Linked DNA regions of Homo sapiens: region 2 is linked to region 1. The links are contacts of gene promoters, found by promoter capture Hi-C in blood cells and fetal thymus (Javierre and others, 2016). All regions are on one chromosome and are shown on one strand. Each heading gives the region's core, a stretch centred on a gene start or on the middle of the fragment in contact. The rest is flanking DNA. Distances are from core to core; before and after follow the strand shown.

Evidence for each region. Contacts are between HindIII fragments. The CHiCAGO score rates a contact against its expected background, and 5 or more counts as called.
Region 2: a contact is called between the fragment with the promoter of CABS1 here and the fragment with the promoter of UGT2A3 in region 1, in 5 of 17 cell types (neutrophils, monocytes, non-activated CD4 T cells and 2 more). The highest score is 10.3, in neutrophils.

The regions. Positions count from the first base shown.
Region 1 is chr4:68,949,369-68,954,214 of GRCh38, reverse strand. It overlaps UGT2A3 (UDP glucuronosyltransferase family 2 member A3), which reads left to right and starts at 2,411. Exons shown (of 6, transcript NM_024743.4): 1 at 2,411-3,169. The coding sequence starts at 2,455. The HindIII fragment of the contact is 6,967 bases long and covers 1,934-4,846 here.
Region 2 is chr4:70,332,287-70,337,132 of GRCh38, reverse strand. It overlaps CABS1 (calcium binding protein, spermatid associated 1), which reads right to left and starts at 2,152. Exons shown (of 2, transcript NM_033122.4): 1 at 787-2,152; 2 at 17-167. The coding sequence starts at 2,093. The coding sequence ends at 906. The HindIII fragment of the contact is 765 bases long and covers 1,425-2,189 here.

The DNA.
Region 1 (4,846 bases), core at 1,162-3,661:
TTTCTTTTCTCTCATTAGTTTCTCTCTCCAGACAGCTATCACCTCCATGAGGGCTCAAAACACTGAGTGATCAGCTCTTACATGCATTTTCTAGATGAGCTTTTTTAAACTCGTTGTGTTGGCAGGGGTTCTCTGTTTGGCCACTATACATCATGAAGTTTTAACATCCCAGACATTCCAAGTGGGCCCCCTTGGCTGGGAGGAGTAAAATGCCCTTTCTCTTCAGAGCTGAGGAGCTCAGTCTCTGGTCTCTCATTTATCTGTGAAAATAATAGTTCAGCTTCTCATACAAAAGTGCAGAGAAGCCTTTTGAGCTTATATTTGGGAAAAAAGGCAATGGAGAGGACCCTTTAGAATGAACTCCTGAAGTATAATTAGGATTCTAAAAGACAACCTCCAAGGAGAAAAAAAAGAAAAAATGTTCAGAATAAATCAAGGACTATATACCGAAAGGAGATCCAGGACTCAAGAGGACATACCAGTTCCACTGGAGAAGAAGCTCAAAATTGGAGAGGCATTCAGTGGGCCTCTGTTGCTACCTTAGCTTCAAGTTCAGGCAAGTTTTATGGTGTCCTGAGTTTTGTCTGAGGCCCCACATGTTCAAGTGTCAAGTTGTTATTGATGAAAAGAGTCGAACACTTTAAAATATTTAAAGAGGTTTATTCTGAGCCAAATATGAGTCAGTAATGGCCTGTGATTTATCCCTCCAGAGACCCTAAGAACATGTCATCATGGTGCTCAGGCTACACAGTTTTAATGCAATTTAGAGTGACATTAGACATCAATCCATACATGTAGGTTATATATTGACTTGGTCTGGATAGGCAGGACAACTGGGAGTGGGGCTTCCAGGTCATAGGCAAATTCAAGGATTTTCTATTGGCAATTGGTTGAGTTATATTGTTGTCTAAGTTATAGAATTAACAGACAAGAATGTCTGGGTTAAGATAAAGGGCTGTTAATACCAAGGTGTTATCATGCAGATAAAGCTGTCAAGCAACAGGCTTCAGAGAGAATAGATTGTAAATGTTTCTTATCAAAATTAGTGAGTCTGTTCTATTGGTTTTAAAGTCTGCGTTGATGGTAGTGCTAGTGAGTTTTTCCTGAATTCAGAAAGGGGGGAGGGTATAATGAGGCATATCCTATCCCACCACCCCACTTCTCATCATTGCCTCAACTAGTTTTTGAGATTAACTTTGAAATGCTCTTTGCTGAGAGTAAGGGTCCGTTTAGATGGTTGGGGATTCCTAAAATTTTATTTTTTGTTCACATCTACATACAGTTGTTGAAAATTTGAACAGTAACTACAGGAAAAATAACCCAGTTAGATGATATTGATTCTGAAAACTGCTCTAAGTTTTGTGCATAATATTTTACCTAATGTCATTATCAAACTTCTGCTTATTAAGACAGAAACCACAACCATGTCTTTTCTCCTACACATTTTTTCCTATCTCAGATATTATCAGTAAATTCAAATTTTAAATTAATTTCTTGCATTTAACTATTAACAATTTATGTTTCATTCTATTAGGTTGACATGTCTCAGTAACTAATATATAATTTTTATCGTTTTCCCTGTTTTAAACTCTTACCTTTACATACCACTCTGTGTTGAGATGCAAGAGTTTCTTGCTAAAGAAAAGGTTGATCTTGTGACTATCCTTTAAAACTTGAGTAAATAATTATTTGCCTATAAATTATGATTCAAACTCATAATTTTTTATTTAAAATTATGTTCTCCAATTTCAAACTAACTTTCTTCTGTAACGTCCTGCTCTGAACTTTCTCTGTGACCACTACTCACTGGAATGATTTTCAAATATCCTATACTTTTGTATGCTTCTATCGATTGTGAAATGCTTCCTTTGGCAACAGTAAATCCTATCAAAGCTTTCATCTCACCTCCTAAGTCAAATGCCTTATTAAAGCTTTTATTATTTCATATTAAAGCAATTGTGCATTTTCCCCTCTGAAATACTGAACACTTTGTACTTATTATATAAAATTAGTCAAAATAGTTACCCAAACTCTCTAAGTATATTCTCAGTAAACCTTTGTATTGTCCTTGTGAGCAAGGGATGTGAAACATGTGCTGTCCTAAACCATCTGATGCCTTGGACTTAGTGTGGAATGAATGTAAGTGTGATTGTGTGCATGTTTCTGCACATGAATTATTAAATCTAAAGACTTGAAAAATTTTTTTCTTTATCATCAATCCAGGTAATAAAAGTATATTTATGTATTTTATTTCTAAGTTCTAGAGGGTTGGAACAACTTTTCCCTGATACATTGCATTTTTTTGATACCTTCAGTACATGTTAAACTGGCAACCACCAGTGAACTTTACTCTTAAAATATTAATTTTTAACTTCTGTGCTTATATTGTCATTTCAACTCCTTGCTTAGTAACTACAAAACCATTGCAGATCAGTGTGTGAGGGAACTGCCATCATGAGGTCTGACAAGTCAGCTTTGGTATTTCTGCTCCTGCAGCTCTTCTGTGTTGGCTGTGGATTCTGTGGGAAAGTCCTGGTGTGGCCCTGTGACATGAGCCATTGGCTTAATGTCAAGGTCATTCTAGAAGAGCTCATAGTGAGAGGCCATGAGGTAACAGTATTGACTCACTCAAAGCCTTCGTTAATTGACTACAGGAAGCCTTCTGCATTGAAATTTGAGGTGGTCCATATGCCACAGGACAGAACAGAAGAAAATGAAATATTTGTTGACCTAGCTCTGAATGTCTTGCCAGGCTTATCAACCTGGCAATCAGTTATAAAATTAAATGATTTTTTTGTTGAAATAAGAGGAACTTTAAAAATGATGTGTGAGAGCTTTATCTACAATCAGACGCTTATGAAGAAGCTACAGGAAACCAACTACGATGTAATGCTTATAGACCCTGTGATTCCCTGTGGAGACCTGATGGCTGAGTTGCTTGCAGTCCCTTTTGTGCTCACACTTAGAATTTCTGTAGGAGGCAATATGGAGCGAAGCTGTGGGAAACTTCCAGCTCCACTTTCCTATGTACCTGTGCCTATGACAGGACTAACAGACAGAATGACCTTTCTGGAAAGAGTAAAAAATTCAATGCTTTCAGTTTTGTTCCACTTCTGGATTCAGGATTACGACTATCATTTTTGGGAAGAGTTTTATAGTAAGGCATTAGGTAAGACACTTTTGTTTTATTTTTAATTTAGTTATCAAAAGAAATATTTTTAAAAATTGTCATACATTGTCTATGACATATATATGCAGGTCAATGAGTTTTTTTAGAAAATGTTGTAGCTGTTTTTCATAAAGAAAGTGTATTTGTTCTAAGCGTAAGATAACCTACTTTCTTAATACCAGTAATATACTTAAAAATGATCATCAATAACTAAGAGATTATATTTTGTATTTCCTCCAAATAGCGCAAATCAACATCACATATTTTTGAGAATCACTGATTGTTAGTCTGAATTTTATAGAATTTCTATTGAAATAAAATGCTAATCATTATTTTCTCTCTCATCATGTATTTAAGAAAATCTTCAGAAGGTCTTCTTTGAATTAATTTTTCAAGAGTCATTAAATTGAACATTTTCTAGAATTCTTTAATTTCTTAGGTGATTACTTCACAAAAACTTGAAAAAATATTATAAAAAGTTAAAAGACTTACGGTCTTGTGGGGCATAAGATAGTAGAATTTTTACTTTACTGATATACACCTACTTGACTTATTTTTATTTCCTTGCTTTACTGATAAAAAGTTGTTTTGCTTTGCAATTTTCATATAGTTGTGATCAGAGCTGGTCAATGCAAGACATGTTTTTATCCAAATATGTTTGAGAATTATGTAGAAACATGAAAAAAGGTACAATTATATTCGACACTAAAATATTGTTTAATGTATTCCAACGAATTCTTATGCATAGACTGTTTCACAGAACTAATATTCAGAGGATCCCAGTTCAAATGTCCTTAGCCTTAGACATGATTTGAATTTACATGTATTGATTTGCTTTAAATAATTTTCCATTCAGTAAGCTGTGCCTAGCTGCAGATAGCCTACCAGGCTTTATGGATCTAGGTAAACAATACAAATCTCTTGGCCTCAAGTCTACATTCAGATATTAATTTAAAGGGGTACAGCTATATAGAGGTCACTGGCAAATTTTGGTAAAATAGGATTATAGTAAAAGCCCCCTGACAAGATTGAAATTTAAAATAAAACAAAAGTGTTATCAAAGGGGTGAAAGAGCATTTTCCAATAAACAAAAGTGGGTTCTGGCCATGCATTCAGAAATTCCCCAACAATTCTTTAAAAATCATGGAGCAGCTTGATATATAAGAAATTCATTTAATAACTATATTTATTATGTAGCTCCAACTTACTAAATTATTGATTATTATATATTTTATAGAATTATCTATTGTGAGTCTAAATCAAGAGTATATATTCAAACAACTATAGGAAAAGGGATATCAGTCAATTTCAATTCAAGGATTTATTTCCATAAGTGCTTACGCACAGGTGTATTTCATTTTATTATACATTGCTTTATTGTCCTTCACAAAAATTGCAATTTACAAATTAAAGGTTTTTGAAAACCTTGAGTCAAGCTAATCAATTTGGCGTAATATTTCCAACAGCAAGTGTGTACTTTTGACTCTATCACATATTGGCATTTATCATGCTTTTTCAAATTTTTCATTGTTATATCTGTTACGGTGATCTGGGATCAGTGTTCCTTGATGGTTACACGTTTATTAGCTTGGGGGCACCTTGATGTGTTACAATATAAGACAGCAAACTTAATTATAAATGTTGTGCATGTACTAACTGCTCCGCTGATTCGTTTCC
Region 2 (4,846 bases), core at 903-3,402, 1.4 Mb before region 1:
ACCTACACACAGTAAATCAGTTGCTTGCCAAAAAGATTTATTGAAGAAAAATGAGCAAAGTGAAAACAGACCCATTTAAGTAGTCTGTGCCAGAAAAGAATGAAGATTTATGTCCTTGAATCGCTAACAAGAGTCATAAGAAGAGTGTGATATTCAGTGTTTAAGACCTGGAAAACATGGACAAAAATTCAGAAAACACATTTTAACAGAAAGAAAATTAAATTGATGTATATGTTTACAGAACATTTTTCTGACAAATATGCATATTTGTAAAATATCATTTTGCTTTAGTTTGTATCTAACATGTGCCAAGAACCCTATCATAAATCTTATGTATCTTACATGTGGGTGCTAAACAATTACTGAATTGTCTTAATTCTTATATGAGGATTAAAAATTTTTTAAATAGAAGAGAATCACTGATGAAATACTAATGAAAAAATTGCTTAGAACAAGCATTTTGGGAGAACTTTTTAGGCTATGGTAATGTTTTGGAGAGGTTAATTTGCTTCTCTTCATATCCTTAATTCTCACTTAAGTATAATATTGACTGTTAACTAAATGATATGCATCATTAAATGTTGTAGAAATGAGCCCCTACATTGCTCTGTCTTCATACTCCCTGAAGGCTAGGACGAAAAATTTTACATTAAGTAATTGTTAGAATATTGAAACTTTGTGATACTAGGGGGACCCTTACACTGCGGTTTTTTTTTCTAAGTTTCCGTAAATCTGTTACATGACCTGTAGTCCTAAGCATCTGCATTTATTGAGTCGAATACTTGCCTTAAATGCCCACATTCTTTCATTTCTAAAGGTTTTTGCTTGTTGGAAAAATTTCTTAGATGTTAAGGCTAGCTGGCTAGACTATTGCACAATTCTACATGGTATCCCTTTTGTTGCTTTTAAATCATGAACTCATCGGGTTCTTCTTTCAGTAGTTCAAAGATATCCGTTTCAGTTGTGGAGGTGTCTTCCTTATAGTCTGGGGTATCTAATACAGAGGTAGTTCCAGAAAATGGCTCAGTGATCTTAGGTACAGTCTCTGTATTATCAGTTTCAGACAAATCTTCTTCTGTAGATGATTCTTCCACTAGGTTTGTAGCTATTGATGCAGGGACAACGAAGTCATATCTGGATTCAACAGCAGTAAGCAAAACAGAATGGGTCTCTGCTTCATTTGCAGTATCTCTCTCCATCCAAATACTGGCTCCCTCGGTAGTTTCTTCATCAGTTAGCAGAGTATCTTCCCGTTTATCTTTGTCTTTTTCAGCAGAGGTAGTGAGTTCAAACACAGTGATAAACTTCTCATCAGAGTCAGTTAATGTAGCCACAGCACTGGTGTCATCTTCTAAAACACTTAGGTCAATTTCGGTTATTTTCTCTTCTTCAAGGGCAGTTATGTCTGGAATAGTAGTGAAGCTTTCTTCAGGAGCAGGAGGGATTTCAGCCTCAGGAATAGTGGAATCAGTGACCTGGACAGCCTCATCAGCAGGGACATTGGATTTGATGGAGGAATTATAATTGCTCATATCAGCTTCATCCTTTTTACGTGGAAAGGCAGGAGCGTCAGCAACACCAGCACTGCTGTCCTTTAGTGTGCCAGAGACTTCAGAGGTTATTGAGATCTCTGCATCTCCTGTGTCAATGGTAGCTAAGAGGATATCTTCTTTTGCTATGTCAGTGGAAAAATCTATTAAAGAAACAGTAGTAACTGGTGATGAAATATTCCCAATTTTCACTGGCATGAAATGTTCGGTAATAGAGTCTCTTGTTATGGAGTTTGTAGTGCCAGTCAGAGAGGTAATTTCTTTCTGTAGGTGAGTTGTTGACTTAATAAAGTCGGTCCCCATATCATCTTCTGATTTGAGTTTTTCCTTTTTAGCTGTCAGTTTGTTGTCTGTAGTTGTTGAAAAATCGCTTTCTAGCATATATTCATTTACTGAAGTGACGTGGTCTCCTTCTGAAGTAATAGTTGTTTCTGATTTGGGAATAGCATTGTCAGCCCCAAAGAAAATGGTTGCTGCAGTTGGTGTTTTACTGCTTTCTGTTGGAGGATGAGAATAAATTTTGGGCAAACCATCTTCAGCCATGGGGCGAAGTGGCACTGTGCACTCTCACAGGTCTTGCTTCTGGACTCAGTGGTATCTCTAGGCAGGAGAGCAGTGTTCATCAGAGTGATTAAAGCTTGGGTCATCATGGTGATTGTTGCATCAACTATGGGAGCAATGTCACTGGGTCTCCTTGGAGGTTGTTTCTAGGCTGCGATTGGTTATCTAATTGCAGGAATATTGAATGAAAAGACTATAGAGTCCGCTCTGATTATGAAATCAAATTCACAGCCAAGCATTTCAATTGCAGGGAACTTAAGATTTACCATGTTTCTGTTTATAAGGAAAATGTCTCCTGATATAGAGCTAGGGTTACTTGAAACAGACATAGCAGAGACTGCCAGGCACCTTTTGGGTTTAGAATTAGTAAGGAAAACTTTGGAAGCCACAAGTTTATCAGCATCAGCTTAAAGTCGTCTATCTTCCAAGCAAGTAACAGAGTATTTTTGAGGTGAAGCCATTTTCCCTTAAGATTCATAGTATTAAAAAAAATTGGTATCTAAAAAAATTAATGGTGTTTTTGTCAGTAAGTATAGCTACAGAAGGTAATTAGGTAGCAGGGAATTCAGTTAGTTCCCTTATTCATAACAGGAAGTCCCACTTTTTCAGTAGAGATAATAACTAATAGTTATTGGCCTGTTTGGGTCTTTTTTTTTTTTTTTTCTTTTTTTGTTTTTTGTTTTTTTTTTTTTCATTTATTTTTATTTTATTTTATTTTATTTTTTTTATTATACTCTAAGTTTTAGGGTACATGTGCACATTGTGCAGGTTAGTTACATATGTATACATGTGCCATGCTGGTGCGCTGCACCCACTAATGTGTCATCTAGCATTAGGTATATCTCCCAATACTATCCCTCCCCCCTCCCCCAACCCCACCACAGTCCCCAGAGTGTGATATTCCCCTTCCTGTGTCCATGTGATCTCATTGTTCAATTCCCATCTATGAGTGAGAATATGCGGTGTTTGGTTTTTTGTTCTTGCGATAGTTTACTGAGAATGATGGTTTCCAATTTCATCCATGTCCCTACAAAGGATATGAACTCATCATTTTTTATGGCTGCATAGTATTCCATGGTGTATATGTGCCACATTTTCTTAATCCAGTCTATCATTGTTGGACATTTGGGTTGGTTCCAAGTCTTTGCTATTGTGAATAGTGCCGCAATAAACATACGTGTGCATGTGTCTTTATAGCAGCATGATTTATACTCATTTGGGTATATACCCAGTAATGGGATGGCTGGGTCAAATGGTATTTCTAGTTCTAGATCCCTGAGGAATCGCCACACTGACTTCCACAATGGTTGAACTAGTTTACAGTCCCACCAACAGTGTAAAAGTGTTCCTATTTCTCCACATCCTCTCCAGCACCTGTTGTTTCCTGACTTTTTAATGATTGCCATTCTAACTGGTGTGAGATGATATCTCATAGTGGTTTTGATTTGCATTTCTCTGATGGCCAGTGATGATGAGCATTTCTTCATGTGTTTTTTGGCTGCATAAATGTCTTCTTTTGAGAAGTGTCTGTTCATGTCCTTCGCCCACTTTTTGATGGGGTTGTTTGTTTTTTTCTTGTAAATTTGTTTGAGTTCATTGTAGATTCTGGATATTAGCCCTTTGTCAGATGAGTAGGATGCGAAAATTTTCTCCCATGTTGTAGGTTGCCTGTTCACTCTGATGGTAGTTTCTTTTGCTGTGCAGAAGCTCTTTAGTTTAATTAGATCTCATTTGTCAATTTTGTCTTTTGTTGCCATTGCTTTTGGTGTTTTGGACATGAAGTCCTTGCCCACGCCTATGTCCTGAATGGTAATGCCTAGGTTTTCTTCTAGGGTTTTTATGGTTTTAGGTTTAACGTTTAAATCTTTAATCCATCTTGAATTGATTTTTGTATAAGGTGTAAGGAAGGGATCCAGTTTCAGCTTTCTACATATGGCTAGCCAGTTTTCCCAGCACCATTTATTAAATAGGGAATCCTTTCCCCATTGCTTGTTTTTCTCAGGTTTGTCAAAGATCAGATAGTTGTAGATATGCGGCATTATTTCTGAGGGCTCTGTTGTGTTCCATTGATCTATATCTCTGTTTTGGTACCAGTACCATGCTGTTTTGGTTACTGTAGCCTTGTAGTATAGTTTGAAGTCAGGTAGTGTGATGCCTCCAGCTTTGTTCTTTTGGCTTAGGATTGACTTGGCAATGCGGGCTCTTTTTTGGTTCCATATGAACTTTAAAGTAGTTTTTTCCAATTCTGTGAAGAAAGTCATTGGTAGCTTGATGGGGATGGCATTGAATCTATAAATTACCTTGGGCAGTATGGCCATTTTCACGATATTGATTCTTCCTACCCATGAGCATGGAATGTTCTTCCATTTGTTTGTGTCCTCTTTTATTTCCTTGAGCAGTGGTTTGTAGTTCTCCTTGAAGAGGTCCTTCACATCCCTTGTAAGTTGGATTCCTAGGTATTTTATTCTCTTTGAAGCAATTGTGAATGGGAGTTCACCCATGATTTGGCTCTCTGTTTGTCTGTTGTTGGTGTATAAGAATGCTTGTGATTTTTGTACATTGATTTTGTATCCTGAGACTTTGCTGAAGTTGCTTATCAGCTTAAGGAGATTTTGGGCTGAGACGATGGGGTTTTCTACATAAACAATCATGTCGTCTGCAAACAGGGACAATTTGACTTCCTCTTTTCCTAATTGAATACCCTTTATTTCCTTCTCCTGCCTGATTGCCCTGGC